Regions from separate parts of the Homo sapiens genome. Here region 2 is linked to region 1. Evidence: promoter capture Hi-C in human tissues and cell types (Jung and others, 2019). All regions are on one chromosome and are shown on one strand. The core of a region is centred on a gene start or on the middle of the fragment in contact, and the rest is flanking DNA. Distances in the headings are between cores, read along the strand shown. Region 1 holds the start of APOBEC1 (apolipoprotein B mRNA editing enzyme catalytic subunit 1). Region 2 overlaps DPPA3 (developmental pluripotency associated 3).

Evidence for each region. Contacts are between HindIII fragments. The study calls those that stand out against the background at their distance.
Region 2: a contact is called between a fragment that was not itself captured here and the fragment with the promoter of APOBEC1 in region 1, in 2 of the 25 tissues and cell types used here (pancreas and spleen).

Annotation. Positions count from the first base shown.
Region 1 is chr12:7,663,258-7,669,739 of GRCh38, reverse strand. APOBEC1 (apolipoprotein B mRNA editing enzyme catalytic subunit 1) reads left to right here and starts at 3,832. Exons shown (of 5, transcript NM_001644.5): 1 at 3,832-3,883. The coding sequence starts at 3,868. RefSeq lists an enhancer at 2,833-3,127. The HindIII fragment of the contact is 14,417 bases long and covers 1-6,482 here.
Region 2 is chr12:7,715,766-7,722,247 of GRCh38, reverse strand. DPPA3 (developmental pluripotency associated 3) reads right to left here. Exons shown (of 4, transcript NM_199286.4): 3 at 6,009-6,050; 4 at 4,689-5,281. The coding sequence ends at 5,171. Among named protein-coding and RNA genes, the nearest start is that of DPPA3, 7.6 kb to the right of the region's middle. The HindIII fragment of the contact is 6,179 bases long and covers 1-5,468 here.

The DNA of each region.
Region 1 (6,482 bases), core at 2,583-5,082:
AACAACAATTTGGCATTTTCTTCAGTTAAATGTAGCTGGGTGTAGTGGCTCACACCTGTAATCCCAGAACTTTGGGGAGGCCAAGGCAGGAGGATTTCTCAAACCCAGGAGTTCAAGACCAACTTGGGCAATATAGTGAGACCCTGTCCCTATAAAAAATAAAATCAATTTTTTAAAAAAGAGTTAAATGTGCATTTACCTATTTGATCCAGCAATTTCACTCTTGGGTATTTACCCAAGAGGAAGAAAAAGAGACATGTTTACACAAAGAATTGTATACAAATGTTCACAGCAGCTTTATTCATGAAAGCCTAAAATTGGAAATAACCCAAAGTACATCACATCGACAGAAGAATATACAAATCGTAGCATACCTATGCAATGGAATACTATTCAGCAATGAAAATTAACCACCAATACACCTAATCATGTAGACCGATTTTACAGAAAAGCTGAAGAACAGCCTGGCCAACATGGTGAAACCCCGTCTCTACTAAAAATACAAAAAGTTGTATAGTGAGACCCTGTCTCAAAAAAAAAAAAAGGAAAAGCTGAGCAAAAGAACACACAAAAGTGTGCACAATGCATGATTCCATTTGTATGAAGTTCTATAATAGTCAAAACTAAACTATAGAGACAGAAAGAGCAGTATTTGCCTGGGACTAGGAGTAGGAGGATAGCTGCTAACACACAGAATTGGGGGGTGCTGGCCAGGCATGGTGGCTCACACCTGTAATCCCAGCACTTTGGGAGGCCAAGGTGGGTGGATCACTTGAGGTCAGGAGTTCGAGACCAGCCTGGCCAACACGGTGAAACCTCATCTCTACTAAAAGTACAAAAATTAGCTGGGCATGGTAGTGCATCTCTGTAATCCCAGCTACTTCTTGCAAGGCTGAGACATGAGAATGGCTTGAACCCGGGGGGCTGAGGCTACAGTGAGCCAAGGTCAAGCCACTGCACTCCAGCCTGGGCGATAGAGGAAGACCCTGTCTTAAAAAAAAACAAAAAAACAAAAGAACTTTTGGGGTGATGGGAATTTTAAATATCTTGACTGGAGTAGTTACATAAGTGTATGTATACATTTTTCAAAATTCATAAATTTTCAGGTGCAGGACAGACTTAAACTGAATAGCTACATTTCATCCTTGATTATCTTTGACCTCACTTACAAATAATTAACCACATGATAGTCTGTCATATGTCATAGTTCCAAGTTTTCTTAAACAAAACAGAACATGGACGAAGCGCTCAATAGGCATTCTAGTAGAAAACAAACCCAAGTTTTGCACCCTCTTGGCTGCTGCATGTTTACTTCCTGGGAGCATGTCCTACCATATCAGTTTCCTATTGCCGCTTCATGAAATTGCCACAGACTTAATGGTATAAAACGACACACATTGTTTTATAGTTCTGGAGGTCTGAAGTACAAAACAGGTCTCACTAAGCTGACATCAAGGTGTCATCAGGGTAGCATTTCTTCTGGAGGCTCTGGGGGAGAATCCATTCCTTGCCTTTTCCAGCTTCTACAGGCTTTCCTCATTCCTTGAATCGTGGCTCCCTTTGAGCCAGCAAGCAGAATTCTGCTCTCATCCTCATATCTCCATTTCGCATCCTGACTCTGACTCTTCTACCTCCCTCTTATAAGGACCCTGTGATTAGACTGTGCCCACCTGCATAATCCAGGATTGTCTTCTCATCTCAAGATTTTTAATTAACGACAAAGACCCTTTTGGCACTTAAGTTCATATGTTTAACAGATTCCAGGGATCAGGACATGGATATCGTTGATGGCTATTATCTTACCTTTTTTTTTTTTTCTTTTTTTTTTTAGACGTAGTCTCACTCTGTTGCCCAGGCTGCAGTGCAATGGTGAGATCTCGGCTAACTGCAAACTTCCCTCCTGGGTTCGAGCAATTCTCATGCCTCAGCCTTCCGAGAAGCTGGGATTACAGTCACCTGCCACCACACCCAGCTGACTTTTATATTTTTAGGAGACTGGGTTTTGCCATGTTGGCCAGGGTGGTCTTGAACTCCTGACCTCAGGTGATCCTCCCATCTCTGCCTCTCATAGTGCTGGGATTACAGGCGCGAGCCACTGCGCCTGGCCTAACCTACTTTTATTCTACAATGATTCTACTCTTACCTAACTTAGAAAAACTTGGTCTCTGAAGGGCCTTTATTGATGATGTGGGATTTCTGCCCCTTCTTCAAAACACTGGTCTGCCCCTGTCGAAACACCTGCTTTATCTCATGGAGGCTCCAGGTTGACTTTCATAACTAAGTAAAGTCTTGTATGTAGGATTCGGGTTTCAGGTTCATGGGGCCTTGAGATTCAAAGTTCAGGAGTTCTAGATTTGAGACACTAGAGGGAGACTTAGGCCTTGAAAAAGTGACCTCAATTCTAGGAGTAAGTGCTGAGACTCAGAGGAATTTTTGGCTTGAACTTGACCCAGGGTTCAGGCAACAGAGAGCAATGGCATAGGGAAGTATGGCATTTACTTTTTCAAGGGGGATAAAAAAGCAGAAGTGGCTGGGAGAGGTGGCTCACGCCTGTAATCCTAGCATTTTGGGAAGCTGAGGCGGGTGGATCACCTGAGGTCAGGAGTTTGAGACCAGCCTGGCCAACATGGAGAAACCCTGTCTCTACTAAAAATATAAAAATTAGCCTGGTGTGGTGGTGGGTGCCTGTAATCCCTGCTACTTGGGAGGCTGAGGCAGGAGAATCACTTGAACCTGGGAGGCAGAGGTTGCAGTGAGCCGAGATCGCGCCATTGCACTTCAGCCTGGGTGACAAGAGCGAAACTCTGTCTCAAAAAAAAAAAAAAAGGGCAGAAGTGGACTTGGCCACACACTTAATCTTAGATTCAAGGATGAAGAGAGCACCAAAGACCTGTACACAAATTAGCTGACTCAGAGGCCAAGGTCCTTCTCATTTTGTATCTAATAGCTCCCCTCCCCTCTCCAACACGGATGTAGGACAGAGAGCAAAATGAGAGGAAGTTGGAAATAGGTGAATAACAGCTGAAAGCCAAGGCCACAGTGTGCTCACCAGATAACATAAAAATTTTCAAGCTATAGTTACAGATTAAGTCTCTCTTAACTTTATTTTTCCTCTCATCTCTCCATTAAAGAATGATGCATCCTAGGCTAGGCACGGTGGCTCATGCCTGTAATCCCAGCACTTTGGGAGGACGAGGCGGGTGGATCACCTGAGGTCAAGAGTTCAAAAACAGCCTGACCAACATGGTGAAACCCCGTCTCTACTAAAAATACAAAAAATTAGCCGGGCGTGGTGTTGGGCGCCTGTAATCCCAGCTACTCGGGAGGCTGAGGCAGGGGAATCGCTTGAACCTGGGAGGCAGAGGTTGCAGTGAGCCAAGATTGTGCCATTGCACTCCAGCCTGGGCGACAAGAGCAAAACTCCGTCTCAAAGAAAAAAAAAAAGAATGATGCATCCTTGATGCAGAGTAGGAGATAATGAAAAATAAATAAATAAAACAAAACAAAACAAAAAAGAATGATGGATCCACCTTGCCTTAATCTTTATTTAAAGAAAGAGAAAGTTTACCAAATTCAGATGTCATTGAAGAACTTTGGAATTTGGTACCCAGTGATCCACCCTACAAAATTCATGTCATTTGCATCATAGGCTTTCTCATCACTAAAGATGCAAATCCCCACGATAATGTCCCTCTCAGTCGGCCCCCTGTTTGTACAGACAGCTCAGATTCCCATAACTGCCTGAGATGCGGGAATGAGTCATCCTCTGCCCAAGCAGGTGGCAGTGGGCACACCTGAAGCAACAAAGTCCAGGAACAATCAGCACAACTTATGACTCCAGAGGAGGAAGTCCAGAGACAGAGCACCATGACTTCTGAGAAAGGTAAAATGGATCCGGGGGCTTGGCAAGTATTCTTGAACAATGCAAGAATGGTGTGTGTGTGTGTGTGTGTGTGTGTGTGTGTGTGTGTGTGTGTGTGTGTGTGTCCTGCTGATTCTTGCATCTGTGGGTGTTTTCAAACTTCCCTATTATTGATTAATATATTAGTCTTAAATAAGATGGTTTATTATTAGTAAATATTTACATCTCCAAGTGACTTTAACCAAATCAGTGTTTGTTTCACCATGATAAAAAATTAAGTAGCCAGGCGCTGTGGCTCACACCTGTAATCCCAGCACTTTGGGAGTCCAAGGAGGGTGGATCACTTGAGGCCCAGGGTTTGAGACCAGCCTGGCCAACATGGTGAAACCCTATCTGTACTAAAAATACAAAAATTAGCCAGGCATGGTGGCGCATGCCTGTAGTCCCAGCTACTCGGGAGGCTGAGGCAGGAGGATCACTTGAACACAGGAGGCGGAGGTTGCAGTGACCTGAGATCACGCCACTGCACTCCAGCCTGGGCAACAGAGCAAGACTCTGTCTCACAAAAATAAAAAAAAAGTTAAGTAAAAGTACAACTGTTTAAATAACAGTTTAAGGTAACAACAGACGTGATAGCATGAGAACAATGTGCTAATTGACAAATGAATTGACTATAACTAATTGATAAATTTGTGCACAGTCAGTGTTAGAAAAATGCATGGGAGAGGAAGAACACTTCAGGCTGAAGGAAGTAATTTCAGCTGAGCTAGGATTTGAGCTGGATTCTAAGAGAAGTGTAGACCTAAAAAAATTTTTATCTTATTTTGTTTTTAGAGACTAGCGGGTGGGTTCACTACTTCGCCCAGGCTGGTCTGGAACTCCTGGGCTCAAGCAATTCTCCACCCTTGGTCTCTCAAAGTACTAGGAATACAGGCATGAGCCACCATGCCTAACCAAATTTTTTTTTTTTTTTTTTTAAGACTCGCCCTGTTGCCTAGGCTGGAGTACAGTGGTGTGATCACTGCTCACTGCTGTCTTGACCTCCTGGGCTCAAGAGATCCTCCCGCCTCACCTTCCTGGGTAGCTGGGACAACAGGCATGGGCCACCAGCCCTGCTAATTTTTTTGTAGAGATGAGGTCTTGCTTTATTGCTCAGGCTGGTCTTGAACTCCTGGGCTCAAGTGATCCACTAGCCTCGGCCTCCCAAAGTACTGGGATTACAGGTGTAAGCCACCATGCCAGGCCAGAAGGGCAGACTTTGGATCGACAAAGAAGAGGAGATTCCAGGTTGATTGAATCCTATTGATGAACAGAATTTAAAAGCTTTTATAGAGACTTGTGTCTGGAATATAATGAATAAACTGGTTAGGCTACAAAAAATTTATGTAAACAATTTGCAGTAAGACCAGAAAGCAAATTTGAAGTGTTATTATACTATAGAGGACTTCGAATGCCAGGCTCAAGGAATGAAAGTTTTTCTTTATGGTAGAGGGAATATCTTTGGAGAATTTATGAATAGCACAGAGATATGACTAAAATAGTGCTTTAGACACATTTACTTGACATGTGATGGGTTTTGGACTGGAAGCAAGGAGACCAGTTAGAAGACTATTGCAATAGTGTGAGTGTGATGGGGCAGAAGGTAATATAGATATCAGTTTGGAGTTGAAGTAACAATTTATTTTCTCCTTTATGTTCTTCATCTGTTAGAATTCTTTTTTAAGGTCAGGTGTGATGGCTCACACCTGTAATCCCAGCACTTTGGGAGGTCAAGGCAGGCGGATCACCTGAGGTAGGGAGTTTGAGACCAGCCTGACCAACATGGAGAAACAACGTCTCTATTAAAAATACAAAATTAGCTGGGCACGGTAGCACATGCCTGTAATCCCGCTACTTGGGAGGCCAAGGCAGGAGAATCACTTGAACCAGGGAGGCGGAGGTTGCAGTGAGCCGAGATCGCGCCATTGCACTCCAGCCTGGGCAACAAGAGCAAAACTCCATCTCGGGAAAAAAAAAAAAATTCTTTTTTAAGTGGCATACTGGGGGAAAGACCAAACACATTATTTGATTGTAGTAGCTAATACCTTCCCTGGACTTTTCTTATGAAGGTGGTGTGTTCTATACCTCAAACTGTCCCCAGTCATGTGGCTGGTATCCTTGTCTTTGCATCCCAGGAATAATATTGATCAGTGTAGACACAGCATATGTCTCACCGTCCCTTTCTGAACTTCTCACTGCTGCTTCAGCTCTTTCAGAGAAAGTGTCTTCCCATCATCAAATGCCTTTTTCCTATGATGTGGCCTCTGTTTATGTAAGGCTCCCTCGGAGTAGATTACTGGTTCAAGGGCCCCAATTTGCACTAAGATCTGAGAAGAGCTCATTCCAACGTGCCAGCCACCCCCTTCCTCCTTCCTCCCAATGCTCAAATCCCCCATTCCTCCTTTAAAAGTAAGAGATTTGTTCTTCAGGTCACACTTGGAATAGTGTTTCCTGACTTCGTCCTATTTCCTAGATATCTGGCTAATTTCTCATTTTAGTTCTTCTCCCCAGCTAGAACCACTCTCTGCAAAAAAACCATGCCATGCCCAAGTCCTTTCTACAACTCCTCTACCATCCAGTG
Region 2 (6,482 bases), core at 1,130-3,629, 54 kb before region 1:
TGAGCGGATGGCCTGAGATCAGGAGATCAAGACCAGCCTGGCCAACATGGTGAAACCCAGTCTCTACTAAAAATACAAAAATTAGCCCGGCGTGATGGCACACACCTGTAGTCCCAGCTACTCGGGAGGTTGAGGCAGGATATCGCTTGAACCCAGGAGACGGAGGTTGCAATGAGCCAAGATCGCACCACTGCACTCCAGCCTGGGCAACAGAGCAAGACTTCATCTCAATAAATAAATAAATAAACAAATGTATAGATCAATGTAATAAGCAAATTCAAAAATAAACATTCACATTAATAGTCAATTGATTGTTAACAACTCAATAGGGAAAGAATGGTCTTTTTTTATTTTTATTTTTTATTTATTTATTTATTTTTTTAAGAATGGTCTTTTCAACACATGTTGCTTGGACAGCTAGATAACCATATGCAAAAGAATTAAGTAGGACCCCTATCTAACATCATATAGAAAAATATATGTATATTTTTTAAGTCACAGAAACTTTTATTGGGAAGGAATGAGCTGTAGTAAAGTGACAACCAGTGCATGTGACCAAATGGGTGAGGTGGGGGTACAGGTGGGCACCAAGGGCTGGTCCAAGACCAGAGCTGGTGACCGCTGGGGCCTGATTGTGGGGCCTTGGGCCATAGGCCCTTTGGGCTGGACTGCGTGGGCCAGCAGAAATACAAAAATAAACTCTGGGCCGGGCGTGGTGCCTGTGCTGGGATTACACCTGTAATCCCAGCACTTTGGGAGGCTGAGGTGGGCGCATTGCCTGAGGTCAGGAGTTCCAGATCCGCCTGGCCAATGTGGTGAAACCCCGTCTCTACTAAAAATACAAAAATTAGCTAGGCGAGGTGGCAGGCACCTGTAATCCCAGCTACTCGGGAGGCTGAGGCAGGAGAATTGCTTGAACCCAGGAGGCGGAGGTTGCAGCGAGCCGAGATTGCACCATTGCACTACAGCCTGGGCTACAAGAGCGAAACTCTGCCTCAAAATAAATAAATAAATAAATAAATAAGTTGCCTTTTGAACCCCTGGGGTCCTCTAGCCCATTTCCTCCCTTCCTATCCCTTCCTACCCCTTTCCCGCTTCCTATCCCTTCCACATCTTCCCCCCGGCCCCCAACACTACACCTGACTAATTTATTTTTTGTTTGTAGAGACTAGGATCTCACTATGTTGCCAGGCTAGTCTCGAACTCTTGGCCTCAAGCAAATCTCTGGGCTCAGCCACCAAAAGTGCTGAGATTATAGGCATGAGTCACCACATCTGGCCATAAATTTCTTGAATTTTATCCTTCTACTGTGGTTATATAAGTCAATATTCTTGTTCTAAGAAAACACAAACTATTTTGGGATGAAGTGTTATCTGAAATTTACTCTCAAATATCTGTTTAAAAAGAGAAAATATAGAATGTTAAATGAAATGTGGCTAATGCTAACAATTGTTGTATCTAGGTAAAATGTACACACAGGTTTATGAGCTTAAGCTTGCAACTTTATGTAGTTTGAAATTTTTTTAAAAAAAGTTTAAAGTAAAACAAAAAATGTTGAGTGAACAGCAAATAGAGAAATTAACAGCGTTAGCCTGGGCAACACGGTGAAACTCTGTCTCCTCAAACAATACAAAAAATTAGCCGGGCATTGTGGCTCATGCCTGTAGTTCTAGCTACTCAGAAGGCTGAGGTGGGAGGATTGCTTCAGCCCGGGAGGTGGAGTTTGCAGTGAGCCAAGCCTCACTACACTCCCAGCCTGGGCAACTGAGAGAGACCCTGGCTCAAATAAGTAAATATAGAAAAAAAACAACTTTCATATATTACAACCAGTTGAAAAATGTAATGGCAATATTTTAACACACCATAATATAATCTGAAGAGGAAGATATCTGTAGAAAGTACGACTTGGGCCAGGCGCAGTGGCTTACGCCTGTAATCCCAGCACTTTGGGAAGCCGACACGGGGAGAGGTCAGGAGAATTGCTTGAACCCAAGAGGCGGAGGTTGCAGTGAGCCGAGATTGCACCATTGCATTACAGCCTGGGCTACAAGAGCAAAACTCCATCTCAAAAAAAAAAAAAGAAGAAAGTACCGACTTGGCTTAGCTGACTTCCATCTCGGATAAGCCACTTCTTATGTAACTTTGAGCAAGTTCACTACTTTTGTGCTTTTTTTTTTCTGTAAAATGAAGACACCGAAAGTGACCTATCTCAGAAGTTTTGAGGTTTAAATAAGCTAATGCACGTAAAATCCTTAGAATAATGCCTAGCACTCAATAAATGTAAACTGGGAGCATAAAGATTCAGGGCAACTTGAACTGATGCTCTCAGCAGGAAATACATGAAAGGAAGATATTATTATAGAAAGGTTTAAAAATATACCTAAATACTAGCCAGGCGCGGTGTCTCATGCCTATAATCCCAGTACTTTGGGAGGCCAAGGCAGGCAGATTGCCTGAGGTCAGGAGTTCGAGACCAGTCTGGCTAACATGGTGAAACCCTGTCTCTACTAAAAATACAAAAATTAGCTGGGCGTGGTGGCACACGCCTGTAGTCCCAGCTACTTGGGAGTCTGAGGCAGGAGGATCGCTTGAACCTGGGAGGTGGAGGTTGCAGTGAGCAGAGATGGCACCACTGCACTTCAGCATTGGTGACAGAGCGAGACTGCATCTCAAAAGAATACGAAAGGACATGTGACATGTAGAATTAATGTTTTCATTAATTTACAAATTTAACATGATTGCAATAAAAATAAGTTGCCTTTTTTAACTAGTCAGTGATTTTCAAGCTCATACAGAAAAATAATAAAAGTTAGCTTTGCTACTAGGAACGATTTGTAAGTTATAACAAATGCTCTGCCGGGCACAGTGGCTCATGCCTGTAATCCCAGCACTTTGGGAGGCTGAAGTGGGTAGATCATCTGAGGTCAGGAGTTCGATACCACCAACATGGTTAGACCCTATCTGTACTAAAAAATACAAAATTATCTGGGTGTGGTGGCACATGCCTGTAATCCCAGCTACTCAGGAAGCTGAGGCAGGAGAATTGCTTGAATATGGGAGGCAGAGGTTGCAGTGAGCTGATATTGCGCCACTGCCCTCCGGCCTGGGCAACAAGAGTGAAACTCCATCTCAAAAAAAAAAAAAAAAAAAAAAAAAAAGAAATATAACCAATGCTCAATCTGCCCCACATTTGTCCTTGCTGGTAGACCATGTTAAATTTAGTTCTTCAGTGGGGTAACTTCTGATGACCAAACTTGGCAGTGTGGTCCTGCACTCCAGCCTGGGCAACAAAGTGAGACCCCATCTCAAAAAACAAAACAAAAACCACAAAGAAATCACTGGATAGCATCTTCTTGGGTTATTACATATCATGCAGATATCCTTTCCAATTCTCCCTGTGATATTATAAAACATATTTGTTCTTAGTCACCATTTCCTGTCATATAGCTCCTAAAATCTTCAAAATCTCTGGAGTGATAACTTTTGTATGCTAATGGTGACTGCTTTGCTGGGGGCTCCAAGATACCCTCAGGATGTGGGCAGGTTGCCAGGAGAAACCACCAAGTGATTGGAGGGTTGAAAGTTTCACTCCCATTCCGGGACCTCCAGGGGAAGGGACAGGGGCTGAAGGTTGAGTTGATAAACCAATGGCCAGTGATGTAATCAATCATGCCTACCTAATGAAGCTTCCCTAAAAACACAAAAGGAGTTCTGAGGGCTCCTGGACAGTTTCACACTCCTTAAGGGTGGTTCACCCTGCTTGTCTTTTCTCCTATACCTCGCCCTATGCATCTCTTCCATCTGGTTATTCATCTGTATCCTTTGTAATATCCTTCACAATAAGTAAGGTGTTTCCCTGAGTTCTATGAGCCACTAGAGCAAATTAATCAAACTCAAGCAAGGGGTCGAGGGAACCCTGATTTGTAGCTGGTCAGTCAAAAGCACAGGTAAGACAACCTGAAGCTTGTGATTAGCATTAGAAGTGCAGGCAGTCTTGTGGGACTGAGCCTTCAACCTGTAAGATCTGGAGCTATTTCCAGGTAGACAGTGCTGGAATTGAATTAGACACCCAGCTGATATCTATGGCAGAATTGCTTGCTTGGAGGCCAGGTGCCGTGGCTTACACCTGTAATCCCAGCACTTTGGGAAGCCAAGGCAGGCAGATCATCTGAAGTCAGGAGTTCCAGACCAGCCTGGCCAGTATGGTGAAACCCTGTCTCTACTAAAAATACACAAATTAGCCAGGCGTGGTGGCAGGTGCTTGTAATCCCAGCTACTCAGGAGGCTGAGGCAAGAGAATCGCTTGAACTCAGGAGGCGGAGGTTGCAGTGAGCTGAGATAGTGCCATCACACTCCAGCCTGGGCTACAAGAGCGAAACTGTCTCAGAAAACCAAACAAACAAAAAAGAATTGCTTGCCTGGTGTGAGGACCCCTGCATATTTCCTATCAACAACGTAGTAAGCTCCACTTCTGTTCTACCTCCTTCCAATTTTCACATCTCTAATGGGAAGTTGATATTTGCAACTATCTGTGCCTGTGTTTTCCAATCTCACCCAAATGTACAATGAAGTTTCTTCCCAGTGGGAAGATATAAAATATTAGAATGCCAGATATTTACATTCTAGAAATGTAATAAAACTATTGTTCATCTAATTGTTAGTAAGAAAAAGAATAAAATCAAGAACAATTTTTAAAAGGTACTCAAATGTCAACTTTATTGTTTCTATATAAACACTTTTGTACTGAAAACTGTAAAAATAACAAAGTTTGCTGTGATTGCAATCCAAATTTTTGAAAGCCAGAAAATCTAATTATGCTATAGCCCAACTACCTAATGCTTTCTTTATCCATAAGTAACTTTGCTTCAATTTCTTGATGTTGGGTTTCATCTCACTGACTTTGGGCTTCTAAGACACATGGGAATACTTATATCATCTTGGCTTCTTTGGGTCAAATCAAACAGTAGAGCTAAAGTTATTCAAATACATTCAGATTACACAGATCCCTTATGAATTACTAGTATCATAGTAGGAAGAAAAAGATACAAGAAAAATACATCCTAGAACTCATTATCAAAATTATTGGTGTATAGTCTATACTAGCATAGAGTAGCTTTCTCAACCTGCTATATAAAATTACTACCAAGAAAAAAAGGTGCAAGAATAAGATTTATGGCTGAAGTGGCTTGGTGTCTTGATTCCCTATTCTAGCATTCTCAGAAGGATCCCATCCATTAGACACGCAGAAACTGCAGGGACATTTGAATGGTCTTGATTCCTTCTGAAAAAAAATGATGAAATGGATTAATTGGAATATTGTACCCCAGAGAAATGTAATAAGCCCTCAACTATAATGTTGTTTATTTTGGTAAGTGTTGGAACAGGGAACACACACAAAAAAGGACACACGGGCCAAAAGCAAAACATTTTAGGAGAAAAAAAGATCAAAATATGGGTACCACAGAATGGCAGCTTGTGGGTCATTTTGTAATGGTAACAAGTGCAGACTGTCAATAAAACATTCTAGTCTCCGTTCTCTGAATGCCTTAAATGTAACTCATTCTGCTACTAGACACTCTGCTGAAGTGTTTGTCCTCTTACTATACAGTGCTACCGTGAAGATATTTGTGACAGCACGTGAAAGTATCAACCTAACACCAAGAGTGACCCCTAGTGTAAACTATGAACTCTGGATGATAATCCTGTCAGGGTAAGTTCATCAGCTGCAAAGTGTGCAATTCTGGTGTGTGACGTTGACAGTAGAGGCGGCATGTGTGGGGTGTGGGGGAAAGGCTATGAACATAAAACTTCTCTGAAAAATAAAGAATAAAGAATATATTTTTAAAAACTACAAACATGAACTGACTTATCCAGAGTCCCTGGGGATTCAGAAAGTCCAAGCAAATTCCCTAATTCCCTATTCCGGCAAAAGGAAACAAACCAGATACCCATCCACATATATAGCCAAAAAAAAAAAAGGAAAATAAAAAGAAAAAAATTATACTTACCTTAACTCCCTTAGGCTCCTTGTTTGTTGGTCTTCTTTCATGCTTCATGGGAAAAAAATATGTTTATTGAAAACTATCAAGAAAAAGATTACTAATATTACACATCTATATAAGGGAGAGAAGCTAGGGAATTTGTTGAGACAGGGTCTTTCTCTGTTGCCCAGGCTGGATTGCAGTGGAGCAATCATGGCTCACTGCAGCCTTAACCCCCCAGGCTCAAGTGATCCAGCTGCCTCAGCCCTCAGCCACCCACCCCACAGCAGCTGGGACTTACAGGCACGCACCACTACACCCAGCTAATTAATTTTTTGTAGAGATGGCTGATTTTATTAATTTTTTATATTGCCTAGGCTGGTCTGGAACTCCTTGAGCTCAGGTGATCCTCCCACCTCAGCCTTCCAAAGTGCAGGGATTACAGACGTGAGCTGGGAGTCTTTTTTTGAGACGCTTGTTTTGTTCTTGTTGCCCAGGCTG